3 separate regions of the Homo sapiens genome follow, and all the other regions are linked to region 3. Evidence: promoter capture Hi-C in 16 types of primary human blood cells and fetal thymus (Javierre and others, 2016). All regions are on one chromosome and are shown on one strand. The core of a region is centred on a gene start or on the middle of the fragment in contact, and the rest is flanking DNA. Distances in the headings are between cores, read along the strand shown. Region 1 holds the start of RPL5 (ribosomal protein L5). Region 2 holds the start of DIPK1A (divergent protein kinase domain 1A). Region 3 holds the start of HS2ST1 (heparan sulfate 2-O-sulfotransferase 1).

The links. The method cuts DNA at HindIII sites, captures the fragments that hold promoters and counts their contacts. A CHiCAGO score of 5 or more calls a contact.
Region 1: a contact is called between the fragment with the promoter of RPL5 here and the fragment with the promoter of HS2ST1 in region 3, in 2 of 17 cell types (total CD4 T cells and activated CD4 T cells). The highest score is 7.6, in total CD4 T cells.
Region 2: a contact is called between the fragment with the promoter of DIPK1A here and the fragment with the promoter of HS2ST1 in region 3, in 1 of 17 cell types (naive CD8 T cells). The highest score is 6.0, in naive CD8 T cells.

Annotation. Positions count from the first base shown.
Region 1 is chr1:92,828,780-92,833,289 of GRCh38, reverse strand. RPL5 (ribosomal protein L5) reads right to left here and starts at 1,250. Exons shown (of 8, transcript NM_000969.5): 1 at 1,173-1,250. The coding sequence starts at 1,175. It also overlaps a transcript of DIPK1A not described here. RefSeq lists enhancers at 172-809, 962-1,281, 810-1,448, 1,452-1,501. The HindIII fragment of the contact is 14,223 bases long and covers 706-4,510 here.
Region 2 is chr1:92,959,665-92,964,165 of GRCh38, reverse strand. DIPK1A (divergent protein kinase domain 1A) reads left to right here and starts at 2,704. Exons shown (of 5, transcript NM_001006605.5): 1 at 2,704-2,790. The coding sequence starts at 2,737. RefSeq lists silencers at 2,344-2,423, 2,584-3,143. The HindIII fragment of the contact is 1,943 bases long and covers 2,165-4,107 here.
Region 3 is chr1:86,911,481-86,915,884 of GRCh38, reverse strand. It overlaps HS2ST1 (heparan sulfate 2-O-sulfotransferase 1), which reads right to left and starts at 1,250. Exons shown (of 7, transcript NM_012262.4): 1 at 725-1,250. The coding sequence starts at 848. It overlaps SELENOF (selenoprotein F), which reads left to right and starts at 1,759. Exons shown (of 5, transcript NM_004261.5): 1 at 1,759-1,857. The coding sequence starts at 1,774. RefSeq lists enhancers at 1,510-1,629, 1,680-1,839, 1,233-1,847, 1,950-1,999, 1,848-2,462. The HindIII fragment of the contact is 1,083 bases long and covers 549-1,631 here.

The sequences.
Region 1 (4,510 bases), core at 1-2,500, 5.9 Mb before region 3:
GTAAACAGACAACTGTCACTTGTAGAATCCCAGGTTTCACAAGCAACTAGGGTCAAGAATCTTTTTCCTCTACCTTCCATGTCACAGACTAGTAGTTTCATAAAACAATAAAAATGAATCCTTAGAGAAATATGGAATAAAAGAAACATACAAAATGCAGGCCCCAATTTATTACATTTAACAGGTATAAAATTATTGTTATATTGCTTTCAAAAGGTTTTAAACGCTTTCAATTTCCATATTTGTTTCTTCAAGGACCAGCACCGGTAATTGTGCCAAACTTTTGCGAAGCACTGCTCCAGACAGCAATCAGTGATGCCAAACGTCGGTTTGTTCGGAACACGCTATGTCCCACTTCGAAAACCTAGCCTCAAATAACAACTACGTACCTCTCTCGCTTCCCATGTTATGTTTTTCAAAAGCCTAAATTACCTGCCACAAAGCTTAACTGGGCAAGAGCACATTCAGCAGTAATTCCCCCACTAAAACAGCACTGTTCCCCATCAGCTAAAGCAACATTTCATCCCACCCTTGGGGCCCTACCCCAATAATTAAAAACTCATCCGGCGACGGACTCTAGAGGAAGAGGCAGGAGGCACGTATTCCATGTTAAAGGAGCTTCCGGGGCCCAGGGACCCCTCGGCCTCCAAGCTCCACTGACAATTTTGGCTTAAAAGCCACTTGCTCAGCCCACGGGCACAAGCTTCCTAAATCTAAGACTTGCCGGCTCCGACATTCTCCTGGAAAACCCACGAAGTACTCGGTACTCGGAGGTCGAGTGGGACCCGAGGACCTGCAGCCCCCCTCCATTCTGGCGTTCCCCAGCTAGGCTGAGGTCGACTGCTTGCGACCTCTCACGCCCGGCCGCTTGCCAGCGCCCCCTCACACTAGACGGCAGTATCCGCACTCAGGCTGTCTACTAAACTCACCCTTCTCCCCAATCCGCCGTCCAAGCTCACGCAACCCTTCTTCGCCAACCCCTCCCCCCAAGTTCGCGCACCGGGCGGCAGCCATTTAAGGCCACGCTGGGAACTGCACCTCGACCAAGTCAGAGCTAGCAATCTAACGCCATCCGGCCCCTGCGACGCGCGAGACGGGCCCTAGGCTGGCATACGGGCAAGAAAAGGGAACCTCCATGCATCTAAAGCCCCGAGACCGAGGCATCCACTCACCATCCTGCGGAACAGAGACCGGCGTCCGCTGCTCGACAGAGACCTGCAGGCCCAGCGGCGCTAGGGGGTGGGAAAAGGGCCACAGCCCTTGCGCAGGCGCAGTATGTAGCGCGGACGGTCACGCCAGTGACGTGTGAAAGAGAGAGGGCGTCGGCCACAAGGCGTTTTACGTTCCGCCCCCTGCTGGAAGGAGGGTGAATGCCTGCCCAAGCTCTCCAGGTTCCAATGCTCGGGGTATCTCACAGGATCCGTGCGGTGAGGAGGAGCAGGGAGGATTACTGGAGCCTTTCGCTTTCTTTGCTACAGCGTTTTGTTTTGTTTTGTTTTGTTTTGTTTTGTTTTGTTTTGTTTTGTTTTGTTCATAACGCATTTTGCTTTTCTAAGCAGGAAAAAAAAAAAAAATTAAATAGGACAAGTTTGCTTGGGAGCCCTCTTGCCTTCTCTGGGCTACTCATTCTGGTCCAAGAGCATATGGACCCACCCTCCCATCTCACCCCCAGGAAGCCTTCCCTGAGAGCCCCAAGCCTGGGATAGGGGCCACTCCTCTGCCTTCCTACAGCAGCTTTCTACTGGCTTCAGCCCACCACAGACTGTCAACTTTTCGAGGTGGGCCCTGATGTCCACCTCTGACTCTCCAGCACCTAGCAGGGTATCAGCTGCTCACCGTTAGAGCTGGGAGAAGGGACGGCCAACCAGGATGACAGGGTTAAGTGACTCCAAAACACTGCCACTAGAATAAATCAGGATTAGGATGCCAATTACTTCTGATTCCAACTTGTAATTCCTTATATAATAGGAAAAATAAACAGAGTTCGCTATGGCCGATGTCAACAGAGCTCTAGAGGAGAAAACTTAAAACACTTTTCACAGGAAGTGTGATTCTACTTTTGTGGAGCCACCTTTGAAAGGGTAAAGAAAGAGGTATTCAATTCGTATTTATAGAAAATATTTAAAAACCTTCATTTTGGTGGATTATCAAGTTATTAGCCTACCAAAGGTGCTCCATGTCTTGGTCAGGCCCTGCTTACACTGGAGGCAAAAGCATCAGGAAGGAAAGTCTGCCTGGAAACAGGCCGACTCCTAACTTCTGCATGTTTTAGGGCAAGGGTTCATAGGAAGACCCACATACTATTCATCTGAATATTTAGAAGTTGTGGGCCGGGCACGGTAGCTCAGGCCAGGTGCGGTGGGTCACGCCTGTAATCCCAGCGCTTTGGGAGGCCGAGGCAGGCGGATCGCGAGGTCAAGAGATCGAGACCATCCTGGACAACATGGTGAAACCCCATCTCTGCTAAAAATACAAAAACCAGCCGGGCATGGTGGCACGCACCTGTAGTCCCAGCTACTCGGGAGACTGAGACAGGAGAATCGCTTGAACCCAGGAGGCAGAGGTTGCAGTGAGCCGAGATCACACCACTGCACTCCAGCCTGGCGACAGTGAGACTCCGTCTCAAAAAAAAAAAAAAAGAAAGAAGTCATGAAGCAGGCTGGATGTGCTGGCTCAGGCCTGTAATCCCAGCATTTTGGGAGGCCAAGGCAGGAGGATCACTTAAACCCAGGAGTTCGGGACCAGCCTGGGAGACTTGGTGAGCCCCTGTCTCTATAAAAAATAAAATCCAAAAAAAGAAGTTATGAAACAAACAACATGTTAAATTAAATATACTTTATCATCCTTATCCCTCTCCTTCTTACCTTATAAATCCATAACAAGAAAATTAAAAATATGTATACCTATTCCCCTTGGTCACAGTCAGGGGTCTGTGGCTAGCATGGCTGGTTCAGCCAGTGCAGTTGGTGACACCAGGAGCTAGGGGGTAATTGTCCAGCATCCTCAGCCAACAGCATCTTATTCAAGTGGTAAAAGTTAAAAAACCACCAATAGTGGGATGAATTAACATTATAGGTTCACACCTGTAATCCCAACATTTTGGGAGGCTGAGCCAGGAGGATCACTTCAGCCCAGGAGTTCGAGACCAGCCTGGGCACATAAGAAGACCTCTATCTCTAGGGAAAAAGAAAAAGGAAAGCAAAGAAAAAATAAATTAACATTATATGCCTCCTGATGCACTGAGAAGAACACAAAACACTTCCTACCAAATTTACATAATCTAATCTAAAATAGTTATCTAATATGTACCAACCAAATCTAATCATGATGAAACTACACGTAAATCCAGATTTAGATAATTCTACAAAGTAACTGGCCTGTACTCTTCAAAAATGACAAGATCATGAAAGATAAGGAAAGCCTAAACAATATTCCAGACTGAAAGAGACCAAAGTGACATGACAACTGTATGCAATGTGTGATTCCATATTGCATCCTGGACAAGAAAGGAAAAAGGGAAATAAGAAGTCTTTGTATTTCTTTTGTTCAAAGGACATTGTCAGAACAATCGGTGAAACTTTACTGAAGTCTGGATTAGGTGATAGTAATGAATCAATGTTAAATTCTGATTTTTTTTTGAGATGGAGTTTCGCTCTTGTTGCTGAGGCTGGAGTGCAATGGCGCAATCTCGGCTCACCACAACCTCTGCCTCCTGGGTTCAAGCGATTCTCCTGCCTCAGCCTCCCGAGTAGCTAGGATTACAGGCATGTGCCACTATGCCCGGCTAATTTTGTATTTTTAGTAGAGACGGGGTTTCTCCATATTGATCAGGCTGGTCTCGAACTCCTGACCTCAGATGATCCACCCCCCACCTTGGCCTCCCAAAGTGCTGGGATTACAGGTGTGAGCCACCAAGCCTGGCTAAATTCTGATTTTCATAGGTAGACTGGTTATGAATGAGAGTTCTTTTTTTTTTTTAAGGTAATACACACTGAACTATTTTGGAGTAGTGGGCATTATTTCTGCAACTTGGTCCCAGTAAATGGCTTAGGAAGAAAATTACATGTGTGTATATACATACACATATATGTGCATGTAAAGAGAGAGATTAATAAGGCAAAAATGTGTTAAAATGGTGACAGTGGGGAACTTGGGAGAAGAGTATATGGAAATTCTTTGTACGGTTCTTAACCCAAGCAGTGGTTTTGAAATTATTTCAAAATAAAAAACAAAACATTGGCTGGGTGTCATGGCTCACCCCTGTAATCCCAGGACTTTGGGAAGCCTAAGCAGGTGGATCACTTGAAGTCAGGAGTTTGAGACCAGCCTGGGCAACATGACAACTCCTCATCTCTACAAAAAATAAAAATTGTAGCTGGGCGTGGTGGTACGTGCCTGTGGTCCCAGCTACTCGGGAGGCTGAAGCGGCAGGATCACATGAGCCCAGGAGGCAGAGATTACAGCGGGTCATGATCTTGCCACTGCACTCCAGCCTGGGTGATACAGTAAG
Region 2 (4,501 bases), core at 1,455-3,954, 6.0 Mb before region 3:
AAAGATTCCTATTTACCATGCCTACCCACCTGCCTGCCTGTTTCCATAGATCAACAGTCTGTACTCGTCTACAAATGATCCTTCCACTTGTGTGTTAGTTTTCAAACGCTTTTTCCCTCTCAAGGACACCACTCCAGCACTTCTCACTTCTTGTTTCTACATGAATTTTCCCTTTTCTTCCGGATCATTCCCATTAAAAACAAGTATTTCTCCCCCTACCACCTTCTTTCTCTCTTTTTTTTTTTTTTTAAAGAAACAGGGTCTCACTCTGTCACCCAGGATGGAGTGCACTGATGCGATCATAGCTCACTACAGCCTTGACCTCCTGTGCTTGGCCTCTCCCCATTTTTTTTCAATCTTCTTTTGACTCTGCTTCTACTGTCCCAGATTTGGGCTCCCCTTTGTAAGAGAACTTCTCAAAAGAATTGTTTGTATTAGCCACCTCCAGTTTCTCTCCTCTCATTTTTTTCTTAAAACCACTCCAATCAAGTTTTTCCTCTATTGCTCCACTGAAGGGTTATCAATGGCCTCCATGTCACTAAATCCAACAGTCAATTCTCAGTGCTCACTCGCAGAGGAGCACTCCCTCTTCCTAGATCCACAAGCTTCACTCGGCTTCAGGGCACCTCACTCGGGTCTCCCACTTCACTGGCTGCTCCCTTTCAGTCTCCTTGGCTGGCTCACCCACTACCCTGTCTTAAAGCTGCATTGGTCCCCAGAGCTCCATCCTCAGTCGTCTTTTATTTACACTCACTTCCTTGGTGATCTTAGGCAGTCTCATGGCTTTAAACGCCATCTAAATGCTGATATCTCTCATATACCTCTAGCTTGGACCACGCTCCTTAATCCTAGACTCATTCATACATACAACTGCCTAATCAAGATCTCCACTTCAATTTCTAATAGATACCTTAAAATGGAACTTCTCCAAAACTGAACTCCTCTTTTGCCTCAAACTTCCTCTATTTGTAGTCTTCCCCATCTCCCTTGGTGTTTTCCCCATAACCTTTATTAGCATTCTTATCCAATTTGATTTTATTGATTACATTTATTATTTATTGCCCCTCTCTCTCACATCCACAAGCGCAAGGATTTTTGTCTGTTTTGTTTATGTAACCGAAACAACTTGAATGGTGCCTGGGTACTCATAAATCTTTATTAAATGAATGAATGAAACCACTAGGATTCATCCTTATCTTACTCAGAAATTACTGTCTCTTGACCCAAACAAAATCAATGAAAAATTGGTTTATCTGCAAGCAATAAAATAAGACCAAGTAGCTGTAGTTCCAGCTACATGGGAGGATGGCTTCAGCCCAGGAGTTTGAGTCCAGCCTAGGCAACATGGTAAGACCCCTCTCAAAAACAGAAAGAACAACCACCACAACAAAAATCACCTAGGTTTAAAACCTGTGTCTGTGTGTGGGTTGAGGGAAGGGGCAGACATGAAGGTATCTCTTCAGAACAAGGCACCTGAACAAGGCTTATGCAAAAACCAAGTGAGAATGAGTAATGGTTTGCTTCTGGGGAAACCCCTTCTCAGAGCAACAGGCCGGAATGAGCTCTAACGGGCCACCTAAACTTTGTTAGCATCACGCTTAAACGTGGTAGGTGGGGTAAAAAGCAGCCAAAAAAAAAAAAAAAAAAAAAAAAGCTGCTTCTTCCATTACAAGTCACTTGGATCAACAGCTGTTCTCCCACTAGGGTGGCTCTTTTTTCCCTTATTTGGAACTCATTGTCAAAAGAAAGACACCACACCCTGTGTTATGTAGCCTTAACCAAGCAGCAGGCCACGTCCCAGGCTCCCTGCCTTCAGGACTGTATTTAATTCGGTGTTTTTGTTTTTGTTTTCTTTTGAAATCAGTGTTCCTGGACGGGGCCAGGAAAACTCTGAAGCTGTCTTAAAAACAATATAAACCAAAAAAGTCGGAATTTTTTAAAAGTACATTTTTAAAAAAAGTTGTAGGCCGTTAGAGGCGAACTGGAGCGTGGTAAGGGGGGCACCGAGTTCAGCAGTGGGGCGCCCTGTCCGCGTTCGAAGCTGAGCCCAGTCCTGGGGGGATGCCCCGGTCTGCGTCTCCAGCTGCGGCAGACACCCCCTTCCCCCGACCGCCACCAAGGGCGAGGGAGGACGAGCCAGTCCCCAGGGAAGGAGCCCCAAGCTTCCCTTGAATTTCCAAACAACCCGTCCAGACACGTCCTGACTCCAGGAGAAGAGTCCATGGGGAGCGTCGGTGCTGCCGGGGCGGGTGGCGGGACGCGCAGCTGGGCGCAGCGCGGGGAGCCGGAAGCCGGAGCAGACTGCGAGGCCAGCGCGGTCCGGGGGTCGCCGCATCAGCCAGCGAGAAGCACGCCCCAATCCGCGCCGAGCGTGCGACACCCCCGCTGCCGCGGCGCCCCCTCCCGCCTCCGCGCGCCTCCCCTTTAAGCTCCAGGCGCAGTCGATTTGTGTCGGCGGAGGCGAGGTGCGACTCCCCTTTATGGCGGAGTCGGCAGCAGCCTCTCTGACAGCCGCGGCGGCCGGCGGGCGAACAGGGCAGGAGGCTGGGCCTCTGGCCTCTCGCCGCCTTCACTGCAGCCGGGCCGAGGGGAGCGCGGCGCGCGCCGCGGCGGGGGCGGGGGAGTGGGCGGGCCCGGCCGGGCAGGGGGCGGGGAGGCGGGGGGAGGCGGGGAGCCCGGCCGCCAGCGCTCGGGTCCGCCTCTGACTGCAGCGCGGCGGGGCGATGTGTGATTACCATGGCGAGGAGTCTCTGTCCGGGGGCCTGGCTAAGGAAACCCTATTACCTCCAGGTAGGCCGGCGGCCGCCCAGCCACCAGCTGCGGGAGCACCCGGCCGTGTGCCCTGCCGCGCCGCGCAGGACTCGCCCGCTCCCCTCCTCCCTCCCTGGGTCTGTGCCCGCCCGAACCCCGCTGCCCCCTGCCGTCCGGCACCTGGCGGCGCGCCCTCCCCAGCCCCCTCAGCGGCTCTGCCGACGCCCCCCACCGCGGCCCTCGCGGCTCCCGCGCCGCGGCCAGCCGGGCTCCAGGGCCCGAGTCGTCCCGCCCGGGTACGCCCTCGCATCCTGAGAGCCCCGAGACGTGACCTGGGTACGACCCCGCGCTCCGGGCATTGCCCGCAGCCCTGCGCCGCTCCAGGCGGAGCTCGACGGGCCGCCTTCTCCCTGGTGTTTTCGGGGCTTTCCCCCCTCCCCCGTGGGCCCCCGCAGGTCGGTTGCCCTTGACTCAGTGTCTTGGGTCTTAAGTCGGTGGTAGGAAAGGTGGTGTAGCATTCCTCCGTGTCTTAGAAAATTATGACAATTTGTCACACCAGTGTTTCCCCAGGCTCCAAAAAGCAGCGTGTGCCTCGTGCCGAGCCCCTTGGTTGGGTCGTTCCATCACACCCAAGATTTAAATGGGAGGTGGAGACCGATAAGCCTGAACCAGGCGGATGGGTGTTTGCTTTTTAAAGGAAAGGGGCTAGTGGCTGGTCTGTGGATCCCAAATACCCTAGTAATGCAAACGTAATTCTCAGTCATGTCGTGTGTACGGTTCGCGTGTTAATTTTTCATGATTTCCCGTTCCACCCTCTGTTCCGCTGCCAGTCTGTGCCTTGGAACCCTACTACTGCCTAAGTGTACTGTTTGGTCACCAGGGGGACCTAGTAGACACCGCGAGTAGCTGAGCGCAAATCCATCACTCCGATGGAAAAACAACTACAAATCAATGCCTTGCGTGGGTCAGCAGTGTTAGCCAACGCTGCATTCAGAGGACAGTATTCCTTTACCGCTTACATTAAAAGGCCAAGAGGTAGATGATTTGGGGTCAGCTGGTGCTTTTATAAATTATGAAAAAAGTTGAGAAGGTAACCATCATGAGGCAAGTAAATCTTACATTTTTGTTTGAAAATTGTATGTGTAAGTCATTACCCTGAAATGAGTGACGTATTGCAAATTGGAAGCATGATTTGACAACCCATGATATTAAGCGTGTACGAATAAAACTGAGTCTTTGTAGCAAGCACCACCAATAGTAATTGTGCACTTGAGTAACACTGTCACAACCCCTTCTAGAATTCAACCCAGGCCAGGTACCTCTGTGTAATCTTTTATGTGAGTTTAAAAAAAAGCTTACCGGCCAGGCGCGATGGCTCACACGTGTAATCCCGGCACTTGGGAGGCCGAGGCGGGCTGATTCCTTGAGCTCTGGAGTTTGAGACCAGCCTGGGCAACATTGTGAAACCCCGCCTCTACTAAAAATACAAAAAAAAAAAAAAAAAAAAAAAAGTTGGTTGGGTGCCTGTGGTCCCAGCTACTCCGGGAGGCTGAAGTGGGAGTATGGCTTGAGCCCCGGAGCGGAGATTGCAGTGAGCTGAGATCACGCCACTGCACTCCAGCCTGGGCAACAGAGTGAGACCTTGCCTCTTAAAAACAAAAACAAAAACAAAAAAACGGCCAGGCGCAGTGGCTCATGCACTTTGGGAGGCCGAGGCGGGCGGATCACGAGGTCAGGAGATCGAGACCAT
Region 3 (4,404 bases), core at 1-2,500:
GTGAAGCAACATACATAGGCATCCCTATTCTCAAGCCCCAATTCATCAGTTTAGCGCCACTAAAGAAGAATTTAAATCTCCGGACCCTCATTTCCGTACTCCGATGAAGCTTTGCACTCGCGTTCCCGCACTACCCGGCCAGCCTCCCTCAGCTGGCAATTACAAGGTCCTTTGCTGCCCGGAGCACAAGAGTGCAACTCGCTACAGTGTTCACATGTTGCTCTCCGTCATCCCAGCATCTCCTCCCATTTCTGCGCACCTATCCCTTCATGAGCCCCCAAAAGAATTCGTATCCAGATGCCCATAGCTCAAATTAGAATACCCCTCATCTGACATTGCCAGGGCTTCCTGTACGACTTCCAAGAGAACACGCGATGCTAAGCGCTTCTGTCTCCGGAGACCAGCAACACACGCTCCCCACTGAGTTCGGTCTTCTCTCTCGCTCTCTCTCCGCGGAATGCCTACTTCGGGGCTACCCTTTGGCTAGGGAAGCCCAACCTTGCAACCTCTGCCCCGTGACCTCGCGAGCCCAGCACGCCGCTCAAGCTTAATTCAACCCATTCTTGGAGCTCGTGCTCTCGCTGCCCCTTGTTCCCGGTTCTCTTTGAAACCGCTTTCAGCCCCCGAGCCAGACCCCAGGTTAGATGAACGCCCACTTGCTCCGGCGGCAGCGCCTCCTCGGCCCCTTCCACAGCACTCAGCCCGGGGCAGTTCAGTTCCTCACCTAGCTTCGAGCGGGACTCCTCCAGTTTCTGGATCTGGTTTTCCAAGAAGAGCATCGCCACCGCGAAGGCCACCACCGCCAGCAGCTGCAACTTGGGCGGCATCATAATCCTGAGGAGCCCCATGAAACCCGCTGCTCGGGATCAAGACATACCGCGGGGGGCGGGGAGCGGGACCCCGGAGGCGAGAGAGACGCCGGGAGGAGCCCGCCGAGCCGGGAGCGAGGCAAAGAGAGAGCGACAGCGAGAGAACCACCGCAGCGACCCCCCTTCTCGCCTCTCCAGTCCCCCTCCCCCAGGCGCTATCACCAACGCCGCTGGTGTCCGCTTCTCCTCAGCCGACTAAACGGCCGCCCCCTCCAAAAGCCCGCGCAGCAAACAGCGCGAAGCGGCTGCCGGGCTCTCGCCTCCCTCTACTGCCTCAGTCCCCGACCCCCGCGCCCGCCTGCTTGCCCGCCTCCCTCTCTTCCTTCCTTCCCTCCCTCCTTTGCTCGCGGCCGCGCGCCCCTCCACCGGCGCTGCGGCTGCGCCGCCCTCATCCCCGCCCCCGCCCATCCCCCTCCGCCACCACGCGCACGCATCCGCGTACGCTGCTCGGCAACCAGAAGCCCCGCCCCTCCCCCCGTTCGGGTCCGCTTATTGGACGGAAGAGCCCCTGCGCTTCGCTCTTGGTTCGGTTTACGGTTGGTTTCCTCTGCCACAGAGCTCAATCAAGACGACATTCAATTGGGTAAACTTGGAGAAGAAGGCGGGGCTAAAACTGGCGAAGGCGTGGCTTCTTGGCTGCTTGACGAAGTGTCGTGAATAAAAGAAAGGAGACCGCAGAAGTAAAGAAGTGGGGAGTTTAGGCAAGTGCCTGATTTGGGTAATCGAAAGCACCCAGTGATTGTATTTGATGACTTTTAAGCTTTCATATGCCGTTATTTAATACCTGTCACTTCCAAATGAGAGATGTAAGGGCAACGGCCGTTAGCGTTCTGTTTTGGATCAGGCTCTGGAGTGGACGCCCCTAGCTTAGGGGTCCTTCTAGGCAGCCAGAAACCTGCGGAAAATGGTAGCGATGGCGGCTGGGCCGAGTGGGTGTCTGGTGCCGGCGTTTGGGCTACGGTTGTTGTTGGCGACTGTGCTTCAAGCGGTGAGTGTAGATCACCTTCGCAGCTGCCACAGGGAGAGTAGGAGTGATTGCAGCTGAGAAAGACGCAACATTCGGTCCTGGTTGAAAAGGGTGGGGAGGACTGCGCTTCCTTAATGACTGCTGCGGCCAGAATGCAACGTGGCTTAATTTCTCGGTTGATCCTTCTCCTTCCCCGCCTTGGGTTTCTAGCAGCAGTTTTCTCTTGATTTCAGATTGTCTTGGGTACGTAGCTTCTCTTATACGGCTCTTGCTAAAAACAATCTGTAAACCACACCAGGTGGGAGGGGGGAATAATAAAGCTTGGCAAGAAGTGGAGGTTGTTTTTAAATGGACAGAAATGCAAGAGACTCATGACGAGACTTCCAACTCTTAGAGGCAAGTCTTCAAGTCGTTGGTCCAGGCGAACAGTTTGTGTTTACCTCTCTCGCGCGCGTGCTCTCTCATTTTCACTACTTCTGTTAGTCTCTTAACTTCCGTTCTCCTCTGCTATTCATATACGGCTGGCTGCGCTTGAGTGCGATTTGTGCTTTTAAACAATGTTGTTGGAGTAAAAGGAGTTATCTATACCAAAGTATAATTCATTTTTGAAGTTAGTTTTTTAAATGATGTTCGTTGTCTTCTTTAAGGCAGCGTTTTTTATTTCATTTTTCTCTATTGGCAGAATAGATGGGTGACCTTTGAATGGGAAAAGTGTACTTTTAACTTATTTCTTCTCATATCCATGTTCTGCTGTGTGAATAGTAAAATTTTAGGCACAGTGCTGAAAGCTTTTACGTTTTTTTATCCTAGCTTAATTCTTCGGGTAGTCTCTAATAAGGAGACCTGGTTTAATTTACTTATCCAAGGTTGAGGGTGTTAAGGGACTACACCGGAGTCCTCTATGAACACCTGTACTTACCTTTCTCAAAGAGCTTGAAAGCATCCTGGCTGTTTGCTTTGGCTACTTTAACCAAAAGGTAGATTCTTAACTTCTGTAATTAACATTCCAATTATCTTGTTATTCAGGCATTTGGTGCTAGGAATTACTGGATCACCTCTCCCTAAACTTTCTACTGTTTAAGGGTTTTTGCACATCTTTAGGTCATTCGAGATAACATTTCAGGTTGTCTTTTTTTGATCTCCCTCTGTCTTTGACTGTCAGTTGTCTATAGCTGTGTAACCGCCCTAAAACCTAGTAGCTTAAAACAGCAATGATTTCTCATAATTCTGGGTCAGTGGAGTAGAACTACTCCACCTATGTTGGTTTTCCCCTGGCCTCATTTATGCTTTTTGTTGACCTAGTAGGTCAGCTAAACCGAAAGGTTCCAGGATTACCACTGTTTATAGTTGGTGCTGTCAGCTCGAGGACTTGGTTCTGTTCCGTGTGACCTCTCATCCTCCAGTCGGCTAGACCAACTTCTTTTCATGGCACTCTCAGGGCAGCACTCCAAAAGAGCAAAAGCTACAATGCCTTCTAAAGCCTTGCCTTGGAAATCACATATATTACTTCCATCACATATTTCTCAAAGCAAGTCACAAGACTAGTTCACATTCAGGGATGGAGAAATAGATTTCATCTCTACATGGGAGGAATGACAGAGTCACTTTGCAAAGTGTGCATACCAGGATAGGAGGTATTTATGGAATTAACTAATTCCATATGTAATAATGATAGGAATTAATTAAACAGCGTACCACAGTGACTGTGCACAGAATCCAAACTAGAAATTTGGATGTCATGTTTGACTCCTTTCCTTACATATATCATATCCAGGGAATTACTGAAACTTACTGATTTTAATTCCTAAGTATCTCAAATCCATCCACTTATTGTTAATCACTCAGGCCATAAACATCTCTCTCCTCAGAAATAACAGCGTCTTGGTTCACCGTTTGAATTATCCCTGGCTGTATTCAGAATCTAAATGGTTGGCTTTGCCTTTGTCAGCTTCCCAATTGCCCAAGCCAAAAATTAGTCATTTTTGGCCAGTTGTGGTGGCTCATTCCAGTGCACTTTGGGAGGCTGAGGTGGGCAAATCACCTGAGGTCAGGAGTTCAAGACTAGTCTGGCCAACACGGTGAAACCCCGTCTCTAGTAAAAATATAAAAATTAGCTGGGCGTGGTGGCGCATGCCTACTCGGGAGGCTGAGGCAGGAGAATCACTTGAACCCAGGAGGCGGAGGTTGCACTGAGCCGAGATTGCACCATTGCACTCCAGTCTGGGTAACAGAGCAGGACTCTGTCTCAAAAAAAAAAAAAAAAATAGTCATTTTAAATCCTCTTTCCTTTCACTGTCTGAATTCAATTAGTCGTTAAAGCCTTAAAAATCTCTAAGCCAGTCCACTTAATAATTTTGTTTCCACAGTTAGTATTTATATTCAGGCTACTATCTTTGCCTAGAATTACAACAGCTTCCTTAACTAGTCTCCCATCTCATTATTTCATTTCCAATCTCTACAGTGCATCAAGTGATCTGCCTAAAATTTAAATCTGTCATGATTAAAACTCTTCAGTGGCTGCTTATTGTTTTTTAAGGTGAAGTCTGTCTTCCTCAATGTTCCTTAAGG